Regions from separate parts of the Homo sapiens genome. Here region 2 is linked to region 1. Evidence: promoter capture Hi-C in human tissues and cell types (Jung and others, 2019). All regions are on one chromosome and are shown on one strand. Each heading gives the region's core, a stretch centred on a gene start or on the middle of the fragment in contact. The rest is flanking DNA. Distances are from core to core; before and after follow the strand shown.

What was found. The method cuts DNA at HindIII sites, captures the fragments that hold promoters and counts their contacts. A contact is called where the count stands out against the background at its distance.
Region 2: a contact is called between a fragment that was not itself captured here and the fragment with the promoter of PPP6R1 in region 1, in 1 of the 25 tissues and cell types used here (dorsolateral prefrontal cortex).

The regions. Positions count from the first base shown.
Region 1 is chr19:55,256,037-55,262,293 of GRCh38, reverse strand. PPP6R1 (protein phosphatase 6 regulatory subunit 1) reads left to right here and starts at 3,277. Exons shown (of 24, transcript NM_014931.4): 1 at 3,277-3,859. It overlaps HSPBP1 (HSPA (Hsp70) binding protein 1), which reads left to right. Exons shown (of 8, transcript NM_012267.5): 8 at 1-71. RefSeq lists enhancers at 2,640-2,689, 2,770-2,819, 2,850-3,049, 3,055-4,029 and silencers at 2,879-3,173, 3,080-3,359, 3,490-3,589, 3,760-3,819, 5,004-5,197. The HindIII fragment of the contact is 34,304 bases long and covers 1-6,257 here.
Region 2 is chr19:54,438,704-54,444,766 of GRCh38, reverse strand. No RefSeq gene overlaps it. Among named protein-coding and RNA genes, the nearest start is that of LENG8-AS1, 7.3 kb to the left of the region's middle. The HindIII fragment of the contact is 7,065 bases long and covers 1-5,897 here.

The sequences.
Region 1 (6,257 bases), core at 2,028-4,527:
GGAGGGGCACGGGTTTAAGGGACTTGGGGAGCCACTGGAAGAATAATAAAAGTGTTGCTCTTTATCATCTATAGAGCCATTGTGTCATTTACTCTTCCCTGTCTTTCCTGAGCAACAGTGTGTGGGACATCTGTCCTTTTTTCGGCCACCTGGCAAACCTGAATTCTAGGTTTGAGGAATTTCCCAGGTTAGACATCTAAATTTTCCCTAGGGTAGCCGCCATTTCCCTTCCCAGCATCCTTTGCTGTAGGGTAATCATGTGACATTAGCTCCACAAATCAGAACTCTCTCTGGGAATCTGTTTTGTACACCAATCAGAACCCGCTGGTGGTCTAGCTCCTCTACCAATCAGAGCCCGCCGGTCGTCGGGCCAAGAGTTGGCGGTGGAGGGGCCCCTGCCCAGGTTCCCTTCTGGCTAGTGCAGGAGCAGCCACACCTGGCTTCTGGACAGGGCTGGCAGAGATTCTGGCGGGAGTGTCTGAGCCAGGTGCCGTTGATGGAGGCTGCACTGTGTCTCAGGAGCAGGCCTGTGGCTGGGTGTGGGCTTCATTCCTGACTGCAAAGCGCCAAGCGGATTCTGTAGCTTTCTCAGAGACGTGGGATTGGGGCGGGAGGTGGGGGTGTCGGAGGCTGCCTCAATTCCTTTAATAAATTCCTTTTCTGTTTAGCTACAAGAAATTTTGTCATTTGTAGACAAGAGCTTTGAAAGCTGTTGTTTTTCCAGAGAGGAGGCTGAGCTCAGAGGAGGCTGACCCCTGACCAAGTTCACAGCCAGGATTCACAGCTGGACTAATTCCAGAGCGATCCTCCTCTTTCTTTTTCTTTTTCTTTCTTTTTTTTTTCTTTTGAGACGGGAGTCTCACTCTGTTGCCCAGGCTGGAGTGCAGTGGCCCGATCTTGGCTCACTGCAGCCTCCACCCTCCGAGTTCAAGAGATTCTCCTGCCTCAGCCTCCCAAGTAGCTGGGATTACAGGCGCCTGCCACCGCGCCCGGCTAATTTTTGTATTTGTAGTAGAGACCAGGTTTCACCATCTTGGCCAGGCTGGTCTTGAACTCTTGACAGGGTGATCCACCCTCCTCGGCCTCCCAAAGTGCTGGGATTACAGGTGTGAGCCACTATGCCCGGCCAATCCTCCTCTTTCTTGTATCCTGGTTTCCTAGGACAATTTGATGTCAGACTCATTCCTTTTGTGTGGATTGTTCTGGTGGATCTGGGATTTTTGAGTCTATTTGGATTGGTTTTTATCACTCCTCTTCCTAAATCCAGGATAAATTGAGAGGTAGCTGCAGGATCTGAGATCCTGTCTCAAGAAAAAAGTTCCAGTTGTAGTCCCAGCTACTCGGGAGGCTGAGGCGAGAGGATTGCTTGAGCCCAGGAGTTCGAGGCTGCAGTGATCTGTGATCGTGCCATGCACTCCAGCCTGGTCGACAGAGCCAGACCCTGTCTCTTAAAAAAAAGTTTCAATTCTAATGCAAACACAATGTATATCTGTGAGTTCTGCTGGGTGGAAATCCAGACTTCAGTCATTAAAGCCCCCACAGCTTCCCAGCTTCCATTTGAAGGGTAGGGACTATAGCCACATCCTTATCCCTCAGTTCCTGACCTCTGTGTTAAAACAGTGTGGCAATGATGCCATCATATTGTGGAGAAAACAAGGAAGCCAAATGCTGGGTAAAAGACAAAACATCTCTATAGAAAAAAGAGAAAAGGAAATGCCTCTCTGTGATGGTTCATTTCAGGTGTTGACTGGGCTAAGGGATGTCCAGATAGCTGGTAAAACATTATGGGTGTGTCTATGAGGGTATTTCTGGAAGAGACTAGCATTTGAATCGGTAGACTGAATAAAGATCTTCCCTCCCCAGTGTGAGCTGGCATTATCCAATCCATTGAGGGTCTCAATAGAACAAAGAGGGCAAAGGAGGGGTGAATTTGCTCTTTTTTTTTTTTTTTTTTTTTCTCGAGACGGAGTCTCGCTCTGTCACCCAGGCTGGAGTGCAGTGGCCTGATCTGGGCTCACTGCAACATCCACCTCCCGGGTTCAAGTAATTCTCCTGCCTCAGCCTCCTGAGTAGCTGGGATTACAGGCGCACACCGCCACGTCCGGCTATTTTTTGTATTTTAGTAGACACGTGGTTTCACTGTGTTGCCCAGGCTGGTCTCAAACTCCTGAGCTCAGGCAATCCGCCCACCTCGGCCTCCCAAAGTGCTGGGATTATAGGCGTGGGGTCTTGAACTCCTGAGCTCAAGTACAGGCAGGCGTGAGCCACCACGCTGGGCCCTTTGTTTTTGAGACAGGTTCTCGCTCTGTCTCCTAGGATGGAGTGCAGTGGTGCAATCCGGCTCACTGCAGCCTCGGCTCAAGCGATTCTCCTGCCTTAGCCTCCCGAATAGCTGAGACCACAGGCGCGGGCCACCAGGCCCAACTAATTTTTTAAATTTTCTTTTGTAGAGACGGGGGTCTCCCTAGGTTGCCCAGGCTGGTCTCCAACTCCTGGTCTCATGCCATCCTCCGGCCTCGGGCCTCCTAAAGTGTTGTGATTACAAGCGTAAGCCACCGCGCCCGGCCAATTCGGAGTCTTAAAACAAAAACAAAAACAAAAAAGTTCCTCGCGCCCACACGATTTTTACAGTAGGCCTCTAACATGGGTAGAGAGGGGAGCTATTAAAGTTGGGGAAACCGAGGCTCAAAGCCAGAGGGACCTTCATCAATCTAGACACAAGGTCTAGGAGGTCTCTTTCAGTTGATGCTATTAGAAGCTGCTTTGGGCGGAACTGGCAACACCAGCGACCCGGCCGGGACTATCGCCAGCAGACGGAAACGACTGAGGGCCTCTGAGGCTCGGAGGCGGCTAAGCGCGAGAGCCGGACGGAACGAAGGCGCCTGGCTTTGGCTGGAGCGAAAACCAGGTCTGGATTTCGCAAGAGCCCGACCCTGGAGCCAAAGCTCCACTATGATTAGAGGAGACAGAACAGCGAACGGATTTCCAAACGGAGCGAGTGGGAAGGGAAATCCTGGAGCGGAATATTCACGGGGCCTTGGAACGGAGCCGGTGCGCAGCTGCGGCTCACTGAGCTGTCTGGGTTTATTCCGGGGCAGACCGTTGGCACCAACGGGCGCAAGCGCGTCTGCGGCGGCGGGGTTCAAGAGTGGGCGGTGTCGGGAGCGCCCGGGCGCACGCGCACTGCACCGCCCAGGCGTGCACCCCGCCCCCCGCACCTGCGCACCAACACAGCCGCGGGAGGGCGGGGCCTCCTGCGTCGTCCTGCGCTAGGGGGATTGTGGGATAGTGGCGGAGGGAGCCGGGCGTCGGAGGCCCTGAGGCCGGCCGCAGAGCCCGGAGATTGAGCGGCTTTGGGGAAGGGGTGGTTAAGGAAGTAGGCCTCGGCTTCCGTCGGTCGCTGCTCGGCTCTGCGGCCCGTTTGGACCGCGGAGGAGGTCGCCTTCCCCTCCCGTGGGGCGCTCGGTTGGACTGTGGAAACCGGGGCAACTTCCCCCGTCTTCCCGGCTGAGGCGCCTGCGTGGGCCTCGCGACCCGGCTCGCCAACCCGCCTCGGCCCGCACGCCCACCTCGCCTGCGGACCCCGGAGGTGCCTACGCGGACTAGTGACGCCCCCCGCCCGTCGGCAACTCCACCCGGCGCTGACCCCCTCAACTCTGCAGGACCCGGCGCGCGAGGACCCCACGACCCGCGGGCGCCTGCGCGGACCCCGCGAGCCCCGGCGCCTGCGCGAGTCCCCGACGCCGCCCCCGCCCCCACTCACCGGGCCCCGCAGCAGGGGCCGGAGCCGCCGGCGGCGGGGCGGGGGGGGGCGCCCCGATGAGCCCCGAGTGCGAGGAGCCGCCGCCCCCCCTCGCAGGTGAGCGGCCCGCGTCGCCCGACCCTCTCTCTCCAGGGCCAGGCGCCCACGTCTTCCCCTCTCCGCGTCCCCTCAGGCTTTTCCCTCTCGGGACCCCCGCGGGTCTTTTCTGCTTCGGATCCTTTCCCTCCTTCCTTCGGGTTTCCTCTCCACGGCACCCCGTTTCTTCCCCCTCGACCCTCCCCAGTCTCTTAATCTCTTCACCTCAGCTCCGCCGCCACCCTAGTCTCAGTCTCTTGCTCTCGGCCTTTTCCCACTCGCTCTCTGCAGCTGCGCTCCCCAGTCCCTGAGCCTCAGCTCCGCTCTCTTGCCTCTCTGGCCGGTTCCCCGGCCCCCCAGGAGTCTTTCTCCCTGGTTACCCTGGACTTTGCCTGCTTACACCCTTCCCTCTCGCCCCGATCTCTGCCCCGCCACCTCTTCCGTGGCGCAGCCTCCTTAGATCCCCGGAGCTCAGGACTGGAGGAGCGGGGCTTGTTTTCACCTTGACCGACCCTCTCCCGCCTCCGGCTTCTTGTGCGAGGGACCTGGGAGCGGGGCTTCTCTGGAGCAGCCACCACTCGGGCCTGCTTCAGTGAGATGAAGCCTGCTGAGGGCAGGCAGGGAGCCTGGCGCTGGGCACCGAGGAGGGGGCATCAGCCCTAGGCCCTGCCCTGGAGGTGGGGCCGGTCCCTGGAGGGGGTACAAAGGCAGAGCCGGACAGTCACAATTCCTGCGTGTCGTGATCGAGGTGACTTAGGGAGCTGCAGGGGGCCACAGAGCGGGAGGCACTGGTGAGACTGACTGGACGGACGGCTTTTTCTGTCTAGGAAGGATGAGTAGGAGGTGACAGATGGAGAGTGGGAAGAAGGGCCTTCCGGGGGGGGAAGGAGCAGCACGTGCAGATATGTCAAGGAAGGAAGGTCGGAGTCCTGAGTGCAGATGTATTGGGAGGGTGAGGGGCAGAGTAGTTCCGCCCGGCGTGCTTATCCAGGCCTCGAATGGGACCTCTGGTTGGGGTCTTTCTTGCTCGCTCGTAGTACACACAGACATGACCATAGACACCCGCCTGAAAGGCAAGATGTTTCAGGAAAGGAAGCTGCGTAGACTGTCAGGTGCGGTACTGGGTTCACAGTTGTAGAGAAACTGCAGTGGGATTTCATCCAGCCCAAGGGCGAGGGTCTAACTGTTAGCGTGCGCTGCAAATGCAGCAAGGACTCGAGATTGCCTGGATAACACAGGATGAGGACTTGGTTTACATACATGCACAACACACATGGAGACACGGCGCCCGGCCACGTGTGCTTACTAGTGGTGGGATGGCTGTTGGAGCTGCTTGTGCTGTTGAAAATGTTATGCTTTTTTTTTTTTTTTTTTTTTAACTCTAGTTCTGGGATTGGGATCATGAGAAGGCAGTCCAGCTAATTGTTAGAGGATCTTTTGCCAGACAGACCTAGGCCGAGTCCGGCTTCTGCCAAGCGAGACCTTGGACAAGTTGTTCCTCGTCTGTAAGTGGGGATAGCAGACTGCTCTCCTCAGAGGGTGGATCTAGGGATTAAGTGCAGGGTTTGTAGAAGCCTGTGGCAGAATGCAAGGCACATGACACTCTGCAATCAGTAGCTGTTTTGATGTTGATGATTTTGAGACTGGGTTTTGCTCGTTTGCCCAGCCTTGAACTCCTGGACTCAAGTGATTTTCCCACCTTAGCCTCCTAAGTAGCTAGGACTACAGGCACGTCCTGCAATGCTTGCTCAATTTTTGTGTTTTTGTACCACGCTTGGCTAATGTTTGTATTTTTTGTAAAGACTGGGTCTTGCTCTGGTGCCCTGCTGTGGTGCCCAGGCTGATTTCAAACTCGTGGGTTCAAGCAGTCCTCCTACCTAGCCTCCCAGAGAGCTGGGATTATAGGCATGGACCACCACACCTGGCCGTTCTTTCGATTATTATTTGATTTGGGAATGTCCATTGCAGTGGCTCTCAACTGGGGGCGATTGTGTCCCCTGGGGGACGATTGGCGATATCTGGAGATGTTTTTGGTTGTTACAACTGGGGGGAATGCTGCCAGTATCTGGTGAGTGGAGGTGGAGGCTAGGGATGTTGCTAAGTGTCCTCCAGTGCATGGGCAGCCCCAACACCGAAAAGAACCGTCCAGCCCAAATGTTAGCAGCGCAGAGGAGGAGAACTTTGCTCCACTGCTGGGGTATGGTGTGTCGTTGTGGCTTATTTGCTCTGTTGTGACTCATGAGCTGTGAGTTGGTGAGTTGTGTATTGCGAGTCACCACCATCTTTGTGGCCATTAGCTTTTGTTGGTTCATCTACTGTTTCTTTCCATTAGAGGAGAACCTGCTTGTCTGGTCCCCCTGCCCATTTTTTTTCTTTTGTGGGATGTGTGGCCCAGTGCTCTTAACAGAACACCTTTCTC
Region 2 (6,063 bases), core at 1,116-3,615, 820 kb after region 1:
CTCAAGTGTCAGCCTCCCTGGCAACACCCTCACAGACACACCCAGAAACAATCCTTTTTTTTTTTTTTTTTTTTTTTTTTTTTTTTTTTTTTTTTGAGACCGAGTCTCACTCTGTCACCCAGGTTGGAGTGCAGTGGCACCATCTCGGCTCACTCCAACCTCCGCCTCCCGGGTTCAAGCAATTCTTCTGCCTCAGCCTCCCGAGTAGCTGGGACTACAGGCACGTGCCATCATGCTGGCTAATTTTTGTATTTTTAGTACAGACAGGGTTTCACCATATTGGCCAGGCTGGTCTCAAATTCCTGCCCGTCTTGGCCTCCCAAAGTGCTGGGATTACAGGTGTAAGCCACCATGCCTGGCCCCTTTTCCTATTTTTTAATCAGATTGTTTTCCTGTTAACTGAGTTTTAAGAGCCCTTTGTAAATCTTGGATAGCAGTCCTTCATGAGATAGGTCTCTTGCAAATAGTTTCTCCCAGGCTGCAGCTTTTCTCATTATATTAAAAATGTTTTTCAAAGAGCAGAGGGTTTTGTTTTGTTTTGTTTTTTGAGATGGAGTCTCGCTCTGTCGCCCAGTCTGGAGTGCAGTGGCGTGATCTTGGCTCACTGCAAGCTCCGCCTCCCGGGTTCACGCCATTCTCCTGCCTCAGCCTCCTGAGTAGCTGGGACTACAGGCACCTGCCACCACACCTGGCTAATTTTTTGTATTTTTAGTAGAGATGGGGCTTCACCGTGTTAGCCAGGATGGTCTCGATCTCCTGACCTCATGATCCGCCCGCTTCGGCCTCCCAAAGAGCTGGGATTACAGGCGTGAGCCACCACGCCTGGCCTAGCAGAGGGGTTTTTTTATTATTATTTTAATAAAGTCAAGCTTGTAAGTTTCTTTCATGGATCATGCCTTTGATGTATCAAAAAAATTATCACGGCTGGGCGTGGTGGCTCACAGCTGTCATCCCAGTATTTTGGGAAGCCGAGGTGAGTGGATCACTTGAGGCCAGGAGTTTGAGACCAGCCTGGCCAACGTGGCAAAACCCCATCTCTACTAAAAATACAAAAATTAGCCGGGCGTGGTGGCGCACACCTGTAATTCCAGCTACTCAGGAGGCTGAGGCATGAGAATCACTTGAACCCAGGAGGCAGAGGTTGCAGTGAGCCAAGATTCTGCCAGTGCACTCCAGCCTGGGCGACAGAGTGAGACTCTTGTCTCAAAAAAAAAAATTCACAAAACCCAGTCATGTAGGTTTTCTCCTATGTTATCTTCTAGGAGTTTTATAGATTTGCATTTAACATTCAGCTCTATGATCCATTTTGAGTTAATTTTTGTGAAGAGACTAAGGTCTGTGTATAGATTTGATTTATTTATTTTTGGCATGTTGATGTCCAGTTGTTCTAGCACCATTTGTGGAGAGAAGTTTGGAAGTTTGAGCATTTTTTATGATACCTTTTTTTTTTTTTTAGACGGAGTCTCACTGTCATGCAGGCTGGAGTGCAGTGGCACAGTCTCGACTCACTGCAGCCTACTCCTCCCAGGTTCAAGCAGTTCTACTGCCTCAGCCTCCCAAGTAGCTGGGATTACAGGCGTGCACCACCACACCCAGCTCCTTTTTGCATTTTTAGTAGAGACAGGGTTTCACTATATTGGCTAGGCTGGTCTCAAACTCCTGACCTCGGGATCTGCCTGCCTTGGCCTCCCAAAGTGCTGGGATTACAGGTGTGAGCCACCACGCCCAGCCTTATGATACTGTTCTATCTCTGCTCTGTGCCCACCACCACACCCAGCTAATTTTTGTATTTTTTGGTAGAGACGGGGTTTCACCATGTTGGCCAGGCTGGTCTCGAACTCCTGACCTCAGGTGATACGCCTGCCTCAGCCTCCCAAAATGCTGGGATTACAGGTGTGAGCCACTGCGCCTGGCCTTGTCTTCACTTTTGTTTTTTTGGTTTTTTTTTTGAGAGGGAGTCTTGCTCTGTCGCCCAGTCTGGAGTGCAGTGGCGCGATCTCGGCTCACTGCAAGCTCCGCCTCCCGGGTTCACGCCATTCTCCTGCCTCAGCCGCCCGAGTAGCTGGGAATACAGGCGTCCACCACCACGCCCGGCTAATTTTTTGTATTTTTAGTAGAGACGGGGTTTCACTGTGTTAGCCAGGATGGTCTCGATCTCCTGACCTTGTGATCCGCCCGCCTCTGCCTCCCAAAGTGCTGGGATTACAGGCGTGAGCCATCGTGCCCGGCCCACTTTTGAAAAACAGTTTCAGTGAGTATCGAATTCTAGGTTGACTACTTTTTTCTTTTGCTACTTTAAGAATTTTCTTACACTGCTTTCTCACATTGTTTCCAGTGAGAAATCTGGTGTCATCCTAATTTTTGTTCCTCTGTTTATAAAATCTTTTTGTTTTTCATCTGGCTGTTGTCAAGATTTTCTCTTTGTTACTGGTCTTAAGAAATTTGATTATGATGTATCTTGGTTTATCTTTGTGTTTCTTCTGCTTGGGGTGTGTTGAGTTTCTTGTATCTTTGGTTTTATAGTTTGTATCAAATTTGGGAAATTTGGGGTTATTATTTCTTTAAACACTCTCTCTGTTCCTTTCTTTCTCTCTCCTTATGGGCCTCCAGTTACACATATATTAAAATGTCCCACAGCTCACCAGTGTTCTTTTCATTAAAAAAAAATATATTCATTCCTTCTGGGGCAGGGCATGGTGGCTCATGCCTGTAATCCCAGCACTTTGGGAGGCCAAGGCAGTAGGATCACTTGAGCCCAGGAGTTTGAGACCACCCTGGGCAACATGGTGAGACCTCATCTCTACAGAAAATTTTTAAAGATTAGCCAAACATGGTGGTGTGCGCCTGTAGTCCCAGCTACTCGAGAGGCTAAAGTGGGAGGATCGCTTGAGCTGGAGAGGTTGAGGCTGCAGTGAGTCATGATCACGCCAGTGCACTCCAGCCTAGGTGACAGAGTGAGACCCTGTCTAAAAAGTAAAAAAAAAAAAATCATTTTTTTAAATGTTTCATTTGGACAGTTTCTAATGTTGTCTTCCAGATTTTTTTTTTTTTCCTGCAATGTCTAATCTGCTGTTCTAGGGCTGGGTGCAGTGGCTCGCACCTGTAATCCCAGCACTTTGGGAGGCCGAGGCTGGCAGATCATTTGAGGTCAGGAGTTTGAGACCAGCCTGGCCAACATGGTGAAAGCCCGTCTCTACTAAAAATACAAAAATTAGCTGGATGTGGTGGCAGGTGCCTGTAGTCTCAGCTACTTGGGAGGCTGAGGCATGAGAATTGCTTGAACCTGGGAGGTGGAAGTTGCAGTGAGCCTAGATCATGCCACTGCACTACAGCCTGGGCAACAGAGCAAGACTCTCCCCCAAAAAACAAAAATCTGCTGTTCCAGCCAGTACATTATTTATTTCAGACATTGTAATTTCTATCTGTTGATATCCAGTTTGAGTTTTTTTATATCTTCCGTATCTGTAAAGAACTTTTGGAACGTATGGAGTACAGTATAATAGTTGTTCTAATGTTCTTACCTACTAATTCTAACTCCTGGGTCCGTTTCAGTTGAATGATTTTTATCCTCATGATGTGCCCTATTTTCCTGCTTTTTGCATATTTGGTGACTTTGTTGTTGGATACTAGACAATATCAGTATTACCTTGTCGAGCACTCGTTACTTTTGTATGCCTATAAATATTCTTGAGCTTTGTTTGAGAATGCAGTCACCTTACTTGGAAGCAGCTTGATCCTTTCAGGTTTTGCTTTTAAGATTCCTCAGGCAGGACCAGAACAGTGTTTAACAGGTTAGGGCTGCTTATTCCCCACGGCTGATGTAAGACCCTCTCCGTGTTCTACCCAGTGTTCCTTCAGTTATGAGGTTCTTCTGGCAGGAACAGCGCCTTGTCAAGGCCTGTGTGAGTCCCCAGAACTCAGGCGCTATTTGCTTCAGTCCCTCCAGGTGGTTCTTTCCCTGGCATTCTAGTCTGCAGTAACAGAGGACCATGGACTGGTGGCTCAAAAACAACAAACACTTATTTCTCACAGTTCTGGAGGCTGGAAGTCCAAGATAATTTATTTTTATTTTTATTTATTTATTTTTTGAGATGGAGTCTCGCTCTGCTGCCCAGGCTGGAGTGCAATGGCGCGATCTTGGCTCACTGCAACCTTCGCCTCCCAGGTTCAAGAGATTCCCCTGCCTCAGGCTCCCGAGTAGCTGGGACTACAGGCACCCACCACTACACCCGGCGAATTTGTATATATTTAGTAGAGACAGGGTTTCACCATGTTGGCAAAGCTGGTCTCGAACACCTGAGTTCAGGTGATCTACCCACCTCGGTCTCCCAAAGTGCTGGGATTACAGGCGTGAGCCATCGCACCCGGCCCATAACTTCATTCTCAAAACAAAGCTCAAGAACAAAGCTCAGACTCCCTGCTTTGTCTCCTCTGCTCACGGAGTCCTCCCAGCTCCGCCTCAGTCTTCCCTCCCTGTCCCGTGGTCTAGAAACTTGCAACAGGACCCAGCGGCAATTTTAGGGCTTGCCTTGATGTTTCCCGTTCCTCAGGGATCACTTTCTTGGTAGAGTCTTGACCACTGTTGTTTTCTTGTATTTACTCTATTTTTGGGGGGTCAAGTCCAGTCTCTGTGACTCCATCCTGGTCGCAGTGGAAGCCCCCATAGGTAACATTCTAAAAATAACACTGGATTTTCCTTTTGTAAAGTTTGGGTAAAATGCCTTTTTTTTTTTTTTTTTTTTTTTTGAGACGGAGTCTTGCTCTGTCGCCCAGGCTGGAGTGCAGTGGCGCGATCTCGGCTCACTGCAAGCTCCGCATCCCGGGTTCAGGTGATTCTCCTGCCTCAGCCTCCTGAGTAGCTGGGATTGCAGGCGCCCGCCACCATGCCCGGCTAATTTTTGTGTTTAGTAGAGATGGGGTTTCACCGTGTTGGCCAGGCTGGTCTCAAACTCCTGACCTCAGGTGATCGCCTGCCCCAGCCTCCCACAGTGCTGGGATTACAGGCGTGAGCCAGGGTGCCCGGCCAACTTCTTGTTGAGAGATCACCCCCAGGCTCATTGGCATGGGAGATCAAGCAGCTGAGTCTCAAGGTACTTTGCAGCCGCCCAACAGCCAGCGGATGCCTGTGCTTGGGAAATGGGCTCAGGGGCACTAGAGGGCAGTGTTTGAGAGGAAAGAAGTCAGCATAGCAGCAGGGCCGGGCCTGGGGCAGACAGCCCACATGGTTAGGAAAAAGTGAGTGAACGCATGTGGCCCCCAGAACCCCTCCCTGAAATTGCAGTTGATTTTTATTCCCACCGTCAGGCCCACATATCTAAAGCTTCCTCTGAACGCTCCTTGCAGTACACAAAATAGAAATGATTGACAGGCACAGAGCAGCAGCAGGCCCCACGCTGTACACCAGCATCTGGCACTGTGGGTCACCAAGCACCAACTCGATCCCCTCGGAGCCAGGTGTGTGTTGAGATTCAGGATTTTTCAGTTGCAAAGGCAATATGATCTCTACTCCACAGGGCACACGGCACCCTCAGTGCTCAGCACAGCAGTGTGCAGCAGCCTGGTTAACTTTTCTGCAGGGAAGTATGTGAACGTTCACACCAAGCGTGTCAGTCATGTCTGTAAGTCATCTCCCACCAACACAGGTCAGGTTTTCCTGCCCAATGAGCTTGGGGATGGCTTGACTTTGGAGCTCTTTGGATCTGTGGATTTTGGAATTTTGGATTTCTGATACCCGTTTGATCAAAGAGGCAACCGAGGTCTAACGGGTCAAGTGACTTTCCCATATCCGTGAAGGTCATGAAAAGCAGGGCCAGGATGGTGGCCTGGGGTGCCTTGAATGATAAGCTGGGCCCTTCACTGTGCAGGCCCCTCTCCTTCAGTCCACTCTGCCACTGCTGTCTGCCACACCCTGCTCTGATAGCTCCTCTCTGCCAGGCTTTTCCCTCACATCCTCAACTCAGCCAAGAGCTGGTTTCTTCCAGAGAGCCCTGCTGTGCAGTCAGTTATTGGACTTCTCTTTTTGTGCATGTTTGTTTTCAGGGTTTAGCTGATCAAAGTGGTATC